Linked DNA regions of Homo sapiens: region 2 is linked to region 1. The links are contacts of gene promoters, found by promoter capture Hi-C in human tissues and cell types (Jung and others, 2019). All regions are on one chromosome and are shown on one strand. The core of a region is centred on a gene start or on the middle of the fragment in contact, and the rest is flanking DNA. Distances in the headings are between cores, read along the strand shown.

What was found. The method cuts DNA at HindIII sites, captures the fragments that hold promoters and counts their contacts. A contact is called where the count stands out against the background at its distance.
Region 2: a contact is called between a fragment that was not itself captured here and the fragment with the promoter of APOL1 in region 1, in 2 of the 25 tissues and cell types used here (aorta and pancreas).

Annotation. Positions count from the first base shown.
Region 1 is chr22:36,250,730-36,256,448 of GRCh38, reverse strand. APOL1 (apolipoprotein L1) reads right to left here and starts at 3,316. Exons shown (of 6, transcript NM_003661.4): 1 at 3,230-3,316; 2 at 1,450-1,512. The coding sequence starts at 1,493. RefSeq lists enhancers at 955-1,454, 3,204-3,263. The HindIII fragment of the contact is 10,399 bases long and covers 1-5,083 here.
Region 2 is chr22:36,364,108-36,370,236 of GRCh38, reverse strand. The region is part of intron 1 of MYH9 (myosin heavy chain 9); the gene reads left to right. Among named protein-coding and RNA genes, the nearest start is that of MYH9, 21 kb to the left of the region's middle. RefSeq lists enhancers at 877-966, 4,953-5,052, 5,063-5,152 and a silencer at 1,279-1,573. The HindIII fragment of the contact is 6,874 bases long and covers 1-4,923 here.

The DNA of each region.
Region 1 (5,719 bases), core at 2,067-4,566:
GTGTTTCTAATTCCTCATATAAATTATGCTACAAAGAACATCCTTCTTCGCATAAAACTTTGCCCACATTTGAGATTATTTCCTTAAGATATTTGTAGGAGTAGAATGAGCAGGTCAGAGGCTATCAACAACTCAAAAGGCTTTATACCTAGAGCCACACTGCAGGCAAATTGTACCAATTCACACTCAAACTAGCAGTATATGAAGATGCCCTTTCTTTCAGTCTTACTGGCTCTCAGTAGTCTCTTGTTTAAGACAAAAAAAAACCAAAACATATACACAACATATAAATATGAGAACTAAATATACTTGTTATCAACACCAATTAGTACAAAATTTAAAGCACAAAGGTAGCAGTTGGGATGTGAAGCACTGAACGAAGGAGAAGGAGGATTAATATTATCATTTTTTTAAAGAGGGAAGTTAAGAAATACTGGGTACAACTGAGGGTATATGAAAGTTGTAAGTAAATTATTTACAGCTACAAAGTTGCTAATGGAAGACATAAAACTGGTGATAGAATGTTAGGAAAAGGTGGAGAGGAGAGATAGAGGGAGGGTACAAATAAGATGAAAATGACTAATAATGATACTATAAATAATAACAATACCATTTCAGGCCCATCCCAGTTAGGGGCGGCTCCAAGCATTACCATTGTTCTTTTCTCACCGTGTGTCTCTGCGCACTCCCTGGCACACCCACTTCCAGCAGCTGGTCTTTGTTTGCAGACTTTATTTTAACAGCTCAGTGGTTCCCGGGCCCCCTGATGGGGTTCCATCCTCCAGCTCTCATACTAAAGCCCCCTCCTCAAAAGCCACTCGCCTCCCTCTTTCCCTTTCCTGCCTTTGTCTCAGGGTTCAGACACACAGATGTTTGTCTTCTGGGGACTCCATGCAGCAAGGGTAAAAGGGGGACCCAGTCCTGGGCAGCAGTTCACCAGGGGAGTATGCAGAGGGGCGTCTGGGCCCTTCTTGCTGTAAGGGACAAGGGTGACAGGAGAGGGGCATCCCTTCGCCTTCTTCCTGCTTTGTTCACTGTGTGATCCCCTAGGCCAGGGGAGCCATCTCAACACCATCTCATGAGCCATGAGGACACAGGAGGACCAGGAGAGAGCAGAGGAGCAGGAGGGTAGAGAGAGCTGGTGCCTCGGATTCCCCCGACACTTGTGAGGAGCTGCACCCTGGATCCCATCCTCCTTGGTCATTGTTGGCCTGGCTCAGACCCTGACCTGGAGCCTCTGCTGAATATTGAGGCCGGATATTGACCGTTAGCCTCAACTAGGATACAGCGGGTCCTCCCTGGGCGAGTCTGCCGGTTGGTCAATTCCGGGAAGTGACTTTGGTTCCTAGAAGAAGCCCAGATGGCCCTGGCCCAGCCCAAGCCCAGTCCAATTGTGCAGCCCAGACAGGGAGCCCTCCCTCCCGCCTCAGGGCTCTGAGCCAAGCTCACCAGATGCAGAGGACAGAGACTCTCAGCAAAGCAGCTCCCTCCATGTCGCTGCAGGGCCTCCTCCTTGAGCAGGAAAAGAGGGGTTGAGACAGTGTGCTCCTCCTGAGAAATCACCATTTTCATTTCATTTTTTTTTTGAAATGGAGTCTCGCTCTATCACCCAGGCTGGAGTGCAGTGGGGCGATCTAGGCTCGCTACAAGCTCTGCCTCCCGGGTTCACGCCATTCTCCTGCCTCAGCCTCCCGAGTAGCTGGGACTACAGGTGCCCGCCACGACACCCGGCTAATTTTTTTGTATTTTTAGTAGAGACAGGGTTTCACCATGTTAGCCAGGATGGTCTCGATATCCTGACCTCGTGACCACCTGTCTTGGCCTCCCAAAGTGCTGGGATTACAGGCGTGAGCCACCGCGCCCGGCCTTTCGTTTAGTTTTTAATAAACAGTTTTGCTCTGTCACCCAGGCTGCAGGGCTTTGACACCATCCTAGCTCATTGCAGCCTAGATCTGTTGGGCTCAAGTGATCCGCCTCCTTCAACCTTCTGAGTAGCTGGGACTACAGGTACACACTACCATGCTGGGCTAATTTGTTAATTTTTGATTTCATAGAGACAGCATCTCCTGTGTTTCCCAGGCTGTCTTGAACTCCTGGCCTCAAGTCATCCTCCCGCCTCTGCCTCCCACAGCACTGGGGTTACAGGCTTCATCATCTCTTTTTGGTGAAGAACAAATAAGACCATGACTCAGATTTCACAGAAATTACCCCCCTGATTTCATGGACTTTTGGCAGCTCTATCAGGTTTTTTACAGGGGAAAATACTCAGGCTGGGAGGGGAGGTGAATTTCCCAGAGTCACACAGCTCTTGGAGGGCAGAGGGGAGGCCAACATCTGCCCTTGTGACTCTAATATTGAAGCAAAAATGTTTGATTTTAATAATCCAAAAGTTTCCAGGTTTGATTCTCCTTCTATGAACACAGAGATCTAAGCTCTCACTCCTGTAGTTATACTCACAATTCCACAGTGTGGCTTTTGAATCTCATGATTGCAAAGCTGGCATCATGCCACAGGCACCATTCTGCAACGCACCCTTCTCACTCCCCTGTCTCAGCCACGTTTCCCATTAGGGACACAGCACAGCCTGTTTCTTCTCCATCACCCCAGAAGTCTGAACAGAGGGACAGAGGTGAGGGCCAGAGACGTGGAGTCCTATGATCTACCTGCTCAGCCTCCTGACACGGGACCCTGGGCAAGTCATTCCGCTCCCAGGGCCTCAGTTTCCCCACAGGGCCTGGCACAAGTTGGTGCTCAGACTCAGGGTGGGTGAGATGACCTCTGAACTCCTTGTACCTGAAAAAAAATTCTGTTGCCCCCATTGGGCCTCAGCAGCAGCACCCTGGGGCCAGCCTTGGTGTGGCCTGGCCATAAGAACAGGCTGGGATCTGGGTCACCTCCTCTCCTCCACCTTCTTTGGTTCCTTCAAATTTCCCAAAGAGATGGGCACCCCCAACACAAACCTTCCTTCTGGGTTCACTCAGTCGTGTCTCAGCAGTCAAAACCAGGGCTGAGCCCAGGGAGCTTTGTGAACCCATCTGAGCTGTTTCCCCAACCCTCTATAGTTTAAGAGCCCAGCAGGAGAGGGGAAGCAATCAGACTCAAGCCTGGGTGCAAATCCAGGCTTTGCCGCTACTTTCCTGTCTATCTGAACCAGTCACCTAACCTCTCCCAGCTTATCTACAAAAGCTGTGAGAATAAGATGGAGGCAGGTCAACTGTCCCCAACTTACCAAGGAATCTTCCCCTGGCAGAGACTGAGCAAGATCCAGCTGTTCTGAGCTGTGTGGATCCCACCTCCAGTTATGCGTCTGTATAATAACCAGACAGGTCCTCCAGTCCCCAAGATATACCGAGGAATTCGAAAGGGAAAGTGAAAGTCACAACTTCCCAGCAGCTCATGACCAAGCACAGCAAACACGCTCCCCTCCACCTTCAGTCCAGCCCCACCCTCCTTGCTGCTGCCCTTAGAGGAGCAGCCTGAGACCAGACATCCAGATCCCTCTCATCCAACCCACCTGCCTCGCATCCTCAGGGCTGGGGGTCTGCTGTGGTCTCAAGGAGAAAGACCTGCCACTGACATACTATGGGACCCTGCAGATTACTCCCCATCCTCCCGTGCATCCACATTCCCCTGATGCCTGCCTTACTCCTGCCCGTGCCATCGGCATAAGCACAGTCTCCCACACATGCCTTGTGGATGCTTATTGTATATTTATTGTAATGCCGTTGGGGTTATTTTGGTTATGTTTTTGAGACAGGGTCTCAGTCTGTCACCAAGACTGAATTGCAGTGCCACAGTCATCGCGCACAGCAGCTTCAAACCCCTGGGCTTAAGCCATCCCCCCACCTCAGCCTCCTGAGTAGCTGGTTCTACAGGTATCAGCCAACCACCCAGCTAATTTTTAAAAAAATTATATTAGAGATGGTGCCTCACTATATTGACTGGGCTACTCTTGAACTCCAGGCCTCAAGTGATCCTCCCACCTTGGCATGAGCCACCGCACCAGGCCTGCTCTTGTTGAAGGCCATGCCTTGTGGCTTCTAGATATTTGCTTATATGGGGTCTTCTGCCGGGAGCACCTGCTTCCACCGCCTGGAAAAATCATGCTCATCGTTCAGTGACAAAATCAGGCATTGCCTCCTTTCAGAGATCCCCCAGCATCCTCCCCAGCAGAGGCCACTGCCCCGTGTTCCACTCCCGAGGCACACAGGGTGGAGGGACTAGAGACCACTGCTCAGCCACACTTCCATGACTAGGAAGTCATGCAACCAGATTGCTATTGGACTTTTGTGCTTTGCCCCAGGCAGAAGGGCCTCAAAGGCAGCTAAACCACAGAAGCCAACCTGACCCTTCCATGGGGGCCTATTTCATCCTGAGCAAACATCTCTGGGGGCATCGTGTCCACCTCACCCCACCCATACACACACACACACCAGCTTATGAGGCAGGAAGAGAATGGTGATTACACAGGGACTGCACAATACACTTTGCAATACATTCCATTTGCAAATGCTTCTCCATTTGATTGAGTTTTATAATCATCCCCTCAATGGGCCAGGATTATGATCTGATTTTGCAGATGAGGAAACTGAGGCAAGAAGAGAGGACGTTGCTTTCATCCAGCAACTCAGGGAGGAGGCAAGACTTGTAAACCAAAGAGGGTCTGGGACACGTCTCAGTCAGTTTAGATGTTTACTCTGCCAAGGTTGAGGATGCACCCAGGAAAAAGTCACACAAGTCACAGGAGGTTCTGGGGTCCACTCGTTTTTCACAGAGGGTTTTGAGGCCTCCAGTATTTAAATGTGTAAAATCAGGCAGGAGTGGAAGGAGGAAAGGAAAAAAGACAGGATAGGTAATGAGGTGAGTGGTCACATTCTTGTGAAGCTTTGATTAGCCCTCCTTGAATCCACAGGTTGTCTATGAAAGGAGGGGGTAGAGGAACAGTCAATTATTCATTCGTCTCATGCACAGTTCGTCTACATTTTATATAAGATAAAAATGAACATAGAGTAGAGGAAGCAGGCATATGTGCATTTTTCTGAGGGTGGGCAGAAGTCTTGTTATTTATCATGTACCAGTAAAGATAAGTTGCTAATTTGCATTGTCACAATGAAATTACACAAAGTCTGCCTCAGGGTAAAAACTGCTGGGACCCACAAGGAGTTTCCTTGTGAGCAATTTGTGAAGGAGGCTACCTGGGGAACATGTTGCCTTTTGTCTTCGCAAATATCTGCTTAGAAGCAAAAACAAAGGCAGGTTTTGGAGTGACTCCGTTTCTAAGCTTAACTGTTTCCAGTGAGTTTTGGGGTCCCAAGATTTGATTTTCCTTTCACGTTTTCTCCTTGTTCTTCAACAACTTTTTTTTTTTTTTTTTTTTTGACAGATTCTTGCTCTGTTGCCAGGCTGGAGTGCAGTGTTGTGATCTCGGCTCACTGCAACCTCCACCTCCCGGGTTCAAGTGATTCTCCTGCCTCAGCCTCCCAAGTAGCTGGGACTACAGGCACGCACCACCAAGCCCAGCTAATTTTTGTATTTTTAGTACAGACAGCGTTTCACCATCTTGGCCAGCATGGTCTCGATCTCTTGGCGTTGTGATCTGCCTGCCTCGGCCTCCGAAAGCGCTGGGATTACAGGCGTGAGCCACTGCGCCTGGCCGTTCTTCAACATCTTTTGGACAAAACACTGTAGAAGCAAATGAGTCTCTGGTCACGAGTTTGGT
Region 2 (6,129 bases), core at 237-2,736, 120 kb before region 1:
ACTCAGACCATCTGCCCTAATCTTGGTTCTCCCACCTGCAGGCCCTTTGACCTTGAGTGAGTCATACAATCTTTCTTTGTGCCTCAGTTTTCCTTATCTGTGGAATGAGGAAAATAAATGCCACAGAGGGTTTTGATGCTAATAAAGTATAGCTTTATTGTTTATATGTTTTATCTGTCCACAATTTATCTGGCACAGTGCCAGGTGATATATTTTTATCTGTTTAAAAATTTCAGTCTATTTTTTATATCACGTTACAAAGGTTAAAGTCACTTTCAAGTTATTGCAACAAAAGTCTCTCAATCCCATGAAGGTGGCAGTATTAGTGTTCCTATTTTGTAGCTGGGAATGTTGAGAGTCCAAGAAAACCTACGTGACTAGCCCCAGGTAGCAAGTGAATGATCTAAAATCCTCTCCCAGCTCCTCATTTTCAGGCCAGTTATTTTCCATATCTACTTCCATCGCCTCTCCTGCCTTCTCATCCCACTTCAACCACTATGTGGACAATAGTTGTGAAATTGGGTTTTTGTAGACTTCCACACATAGCCTCACAGTGGTGGTTGCTGGGTCGCGTTACCTAGTTGGCTTTATGGCACCAGCTGTAAATTACAGCCCTCCCTGTTCCATCCTAAGAGACCTGTCGGGTAGACAGCAGGTGAAGGCTGGCAGGCTGGTGTGAGGTCTGGTTAGCCTGGTCCTTGTGGGGAACCTGGGTTTTTGCTGTCCTCCCTCTGAAGAATGGATACCGCCCCCTCGTACCTTCCTAGCCCACCAGCATGCTGTTCTCAGCCCGCCTTCTGCCCAGAGCCGGCCTGCCGCCCACTGTTTCCTGCCTTTGCCAGGGCGAGGGGGAGGTGGGTATATAATGCCAAATGCTCATGAAAAACGCCTCATCATGAGATTAATTACTTGCTGCCGAGCACTGTGGAATTCACGAGTCTCCATCAGCACCTCAACGTCTTCCCCTGAACTCTACCTGGGGTTAGTTCTGTGGACTCTCTGGCTAGAACTTTAAACCTATGTTAGACAGAAAGAAATAGATAGTGGCCACCAGTACGATGCTGAAGATCAGTCTGGCAAAATCCCTCCTGCCATTGACTAGCTGTGTGTCCTGGAGGCTTGATGTCCTCAAAGTGGGGACGCTAGGCTGAGGGCGCTTTCTGGTTGTGAGGCCTGGGTGTGCTGACCTGTGCAGTATCATACACCTTGGAGGACCAGCGTGGTACAGAGGGGCTGCAGAGGGGTGGGTCTCTTCCCTTTTAATACAGGTCACAGGCTTTAATGACCCTTAGGTTGAAATTAGAGCCCCCCCACCCCCACCCCCTTGCCTTACTTCTGGCTTTTACACAAGAATCTGAAGAATGTGATGCTCTATCGCGGACGGGGCAGGCTTCGCAGGCTCTTCCGGGCTTTGCAGGGCAGCCTTTGTTGTGCTGCAGGACCTGGGGCATTCCGAATTGGTTGTGGTTGGGAGTCAGAGACAACTCCAGGCTTATTAAATTCCTGGCTGTTTAGGGCGATATAGACAGCTGGGAGGGGTAAGGGTGGGGAGATAACACTCCTCCACCTCCCAGCACTGTTATCTTAGAGAAATTGGGTTAAAAGTGAGTCTGCTGGAGGGGATTGGTAGCAGACAGGAGGACAGATACTGGTGCTTTGGCCCTGGGCTACTGGAAAGCTTGCGGGTCCACCTCTGCGCTTCTCCTTCCTGATCACGGAGCAACTGCTGTTGACCAGGTCCTATGTGACGCCTTGCCAGATGCTCTGTGTGCATTCGCTGTCTCATTGCACCCCTAGAGGCAGTGGAGCAGAGTGGTTAGGGATGGAAGACCTGGAGCCCCAAGTGAGACCTGCAGGGTACAGACACCGGCAGCTAGTGCCTGTGTGTCCTTCAGCAAGTAAGCCTTCTGGCCTTGTTTCCCCATCTGCAAAACGGGATACCACTAGAATCTACCTCACAAGAGTGCTGTGTGCTAAAGTGAGATTCCTGGTGAAAAGCACTCAGAATAAAGTGCAAGTGGCCGTTATTTAATTACCAACAGGGTCCTGGGAGGTGGGCCTTTTCATTCCCATTGTACAGATGAAGAAAGGGAGGTTCAGGACATTTAAATAATTTGCCGGATTTCCTGAACCAGTGAGGAGAATCCAGCGCTTACCTCCAGGTTGGCCTGACTTCGGCCATATCCCAGCATCCTCTGGGGTGTCTGTATGCAGGCATGTGTGTGTGTGTGTTTGTATATGTGCATGTCTGTTTGCACAGGTCTCTGTGTGCATGTCTCTGCACCTCTGTGTGCACAGATCTTTGCACGTGTCTGTGTGCATGCATATCTGTGTGTGTGCAAGTCTGTATGCACCCATCTTGGACTGGGGAGGGGAGGAGGGGGCCTGGGGCTCTGTCCAGGGCAGGATGGCATTGGCCCAAATCTGGCAGCTCTCTAGAGCAGGGGCCGCTGCTGCTTCCTTCTTTCATGTGCAGCCACAGCTTTGGCCACTTTCAAACCAGACTGTGGCCTGGGCAAAGGAGTGCTGCTTGGTGAGTGGTAAAGTAAGCGGTAGTCACGTTTCTGGGGAAGGACTTGGTAAGGTCATCCTGCCGGCCAGGCTGCCTGCTCAAGGACACTGGGGTTGGCCAGCCTTTCAGACAAGGGTGCTGCCGCAACCCAGTCTAGGAGCGGTAAGTTAATTTTTCTGTAAAGTGCAAAATAAGTGGATTTCATCCTCACTTGTATTTGATCATTTCCCCCGGGGAATGCAGGAGGCTCTGGGATGCTTCTCTGGAAAGCTTGGCATTGCCTGCCATGCCTTCTATATGTCCAGGGCTGGCTGTGTGCTTGCTCATTTGAGAACCGGAGCAAGGGATGGAAATGTCGGGAGGAGAGACCGTTCACCCTTCAGTTTTGGGCTTCTTGTTCCTGGAGTCCAGGGCACCCCAGAGCAGTGCAGGAGAATCGGCCTCCCTCCCGTGCCACGTGGACTCTTGCTATTGGGTTATTCTGTCCACAGCTTTGCTTCCTCAGCGAGATCCTGCTTAACCCTCCGGAGGGTGACGAAGGAAGAGATCCTGCCTCAAGTCTTTGTTCATGTTGCCTTGGTAGAAAAGGAGGCCGCACTAGTGCCCCATTACCTTTGAGCTTGTGACCAGGGGACTCCTAAAAGTCCATGGACCGCACTGCAGAGTCTCTGCGAGCCCCCTAACGTGGTATGCAAGGCGTTCACCACCTCTCACAAGTTCTCAAAGGGGTCCTTGACCACTGACCTAGACAAATAGAAGCTTTGGGTTTTCCATTTGTAGAGTGTGCACACGTGAGTGTCGCATAACGGATGCAGCCTGGGGGCCGTTAGGATCAGGATGGGGGTTTGTTCTAGTCTAAGTTGTGCCACCCCAGGGGTGATCACTTTCCTGGGGCTCATCACTGTAGCTCCAGCACAGTGGCCTTCCCCTCCCTGATGATCCTTCTTGTATTTAAGCCTTTAGAACACCGTCACTTCTGGGTATCTCTTCAGTGTGGGGCTGGGCCTGGAGATGGGAGGGGTGATGTTTCTGATGCCAGACTTGATCTCTTGTTACCTTGGATGCTGAGGAAGGTGGGCTCCTCTTTCGTTCTTGTGCTCTTGCCCCTGCACATCGGCAGGGATGTTCCCGGGAAACCCTGTACCTAGGCAAGTCACTTAGCCTCCCTGAGCCTCTGAGGCTCTCTCCTTTTTTAGGGGGAGGGGCCGCGTGACCCTTCACTTTGCCAAGGCTGGCGGGATCAGATGATGTAAACACCACGAGATGAATGTGTCAGGTGATTGGGTTGCTACAGCTGAGTCTCACTTGCCTGGAGTGGGACACTCCCCCCGACCCCCCACCTCTCACTGAGTTTCCCTTTGGCTTTGGACTTGAGTTTCTGCTTGGCCTGGCTATGTGATCTTAGGCAGATCGTTCCTCTCCTTCCTAGCGTAGATAAGTCACGGTGGTGTTTTTCAAGAACTTTCAAGTGAGATTCATCGGTGGGTCGTGAAGTGAGTGGCAACCAGTTTGTTTGTTTATTTATTTATTTATTTTTGAGATGGAGTCTCGCTCTGTCACCCAGGCTGGAGTGCAGTGGCAGGATCTTGGCTCACTGCAAATTCTGCCTCCCAGGTTCAAGTGATTCTTTTGCCTCAGCCTCCCGAATAGCTGGGATTGCAGGTGCCCACCACCGTGCCTGGCTAATTTTTGTATTTTTAGTAGAAACGGGGTTTTGCCATGTTGGCCAGGCTGTCTTGAACTCCTGACCTCAGGTGATCTGTCCGCCTCAGCCTCCCAAAGCGCCTGGATTATAGGCGTGAGCCACCATGCCTGGCGGGCAACCAGTGTGTTTAGAAATGAAATAAAATAGACTTGAATGGAAAAGAATCAGAGTGAATAGCATGTGTATGTCACATTGTGACAGTTTTGTTAGACATGTTTGTATTTATGACAAAAAGTTTTTAAATTAAAATTTAAAAAAAGGCCGGGTGCGGTGGCTCATGCCTGTAATCCCAGCACTTTGGAAGGCTGAGGTGGGCAAATCACTTGAGGTCAGGGGTTTGAGACTAGCCTGGTCAACATGGTGAAACTCCGTCTCTGCTAAAAATACAAAATTTAGCTGGGTACGGTGGTGCATGCCTGTAATGCCAGCTACTTGGGAGGCTGAGGCAGGAGAATTGCTTGAACCCAGGAGGTTGCAGCGAGCCAAGATTGTGCCACTGCACTCCAGCCTGGGCGACGGTGAGACTCTGTCTCAAAAAAAAATAAAATAAAAAAATAAAAATTACAGCTTAAGATAAATGTTGGGGCCCCAAGGATGAGATGCCCTGGCGCCTCTGGCAGCCCTGACTTAGGGTGGTTCCTGCCTCCAGGCCCGAGCTGAGCTGCATGTTCAGCCAGGGCTGTAAAGGGAGCCCCTTGCCAGATCAGACTCCTTTACTAAAGGGCTTAACAAAATTCTGGGAAATGAGCTACCTTCCTGGGGTGGAATAAATCATGTCGAGTTGGGTTAGGCAGGATGTGACTTCAAACCCTCGAAGTGGGCTGTGTGAGGGCAGCGTCTGTGACTGACTCATTATGAGCTCAGTGGTGACACAGGCTGTCTTGAGAGGAGGCAAAGATCATGGGGGAGGGGCTGGTGTTCGGGGCTGCCCCGAGCCCAGCTCTGGGAGCTTATTTTGTCATCACAGTGGCACTGTGAGTTAGACGATACTCCGATCCAATGCAGAAGTAGGGGCTGGTGGGGGTGGGGGTGGGGGCTGTCAGCTAGACCCACTGGGGCTCCTTGTAGCTGTCCATGGGGGTAGCTGGGATCAGCTCCATTTTACAGGTGGAGAAACTGAGGCTTGGGGCCCAAGTCAAGCTGCAAAGTTTGCTGTTAGTTAAGTGGTGGCTCTGGCATTCCACAGGCAGCCTGTCTACCTCCTGGCTGCGGCTCGTCCTCAGATGCCTTCTGTGAAGGCTGTAAGTGAAAAATCACCATGAGCAGGTCCCTCTCCTTTTGAAGCCCATGATCAGAGTCCACTGTAATGACCGCTTGATCAATGCAGGGAGATTGTTGCTGACCCCTGGCCAGTGATGTGCCTCTTGGAAACAAAATAAAAATTAGTGTACGGCAGATATAGTTATCAGTGAGGCAGGGGGTGGGGCGGAGGGTGAGGACCCTGGATGGCCACAGAGAAGCTATGGCCCATTGTGGGTGGCCCTTGCTGTCTGTCCTGCTAAGGGGAGACATGAGCCACACCATAGTCATGTGGACTTATTTGGACAATAAGATAGAAGATGATTGGGCTTAACATCAGGCACTTAAGAGTGGGTGACGCAGATTTGACTGGAGTTGGTCCCTGGAGTCTGGACCTTTGGGAAGATGGGAGCCTCTCCCATGACTTTAGTTCAGCACCTCCCATATGTGGGGCACTGGGGATGCAGTGGTGACCCGATCTCTGCCTTGGAGCCCTCAGCCCTGCAGGACTAGAGGTGAGATGGCTACTGGGGGAAAGTGGCTTCTCATTCATTCGCTTTTTTTGTGTGATTTAAATAATCACTCAGAGGATAACAAGCTGCTGAAGGCTTGAAGGGTTCTAGGCTGAGCAACCTTCAAAAGTGATCTTCTGTTTCTGGTCTCTGGTTGCACT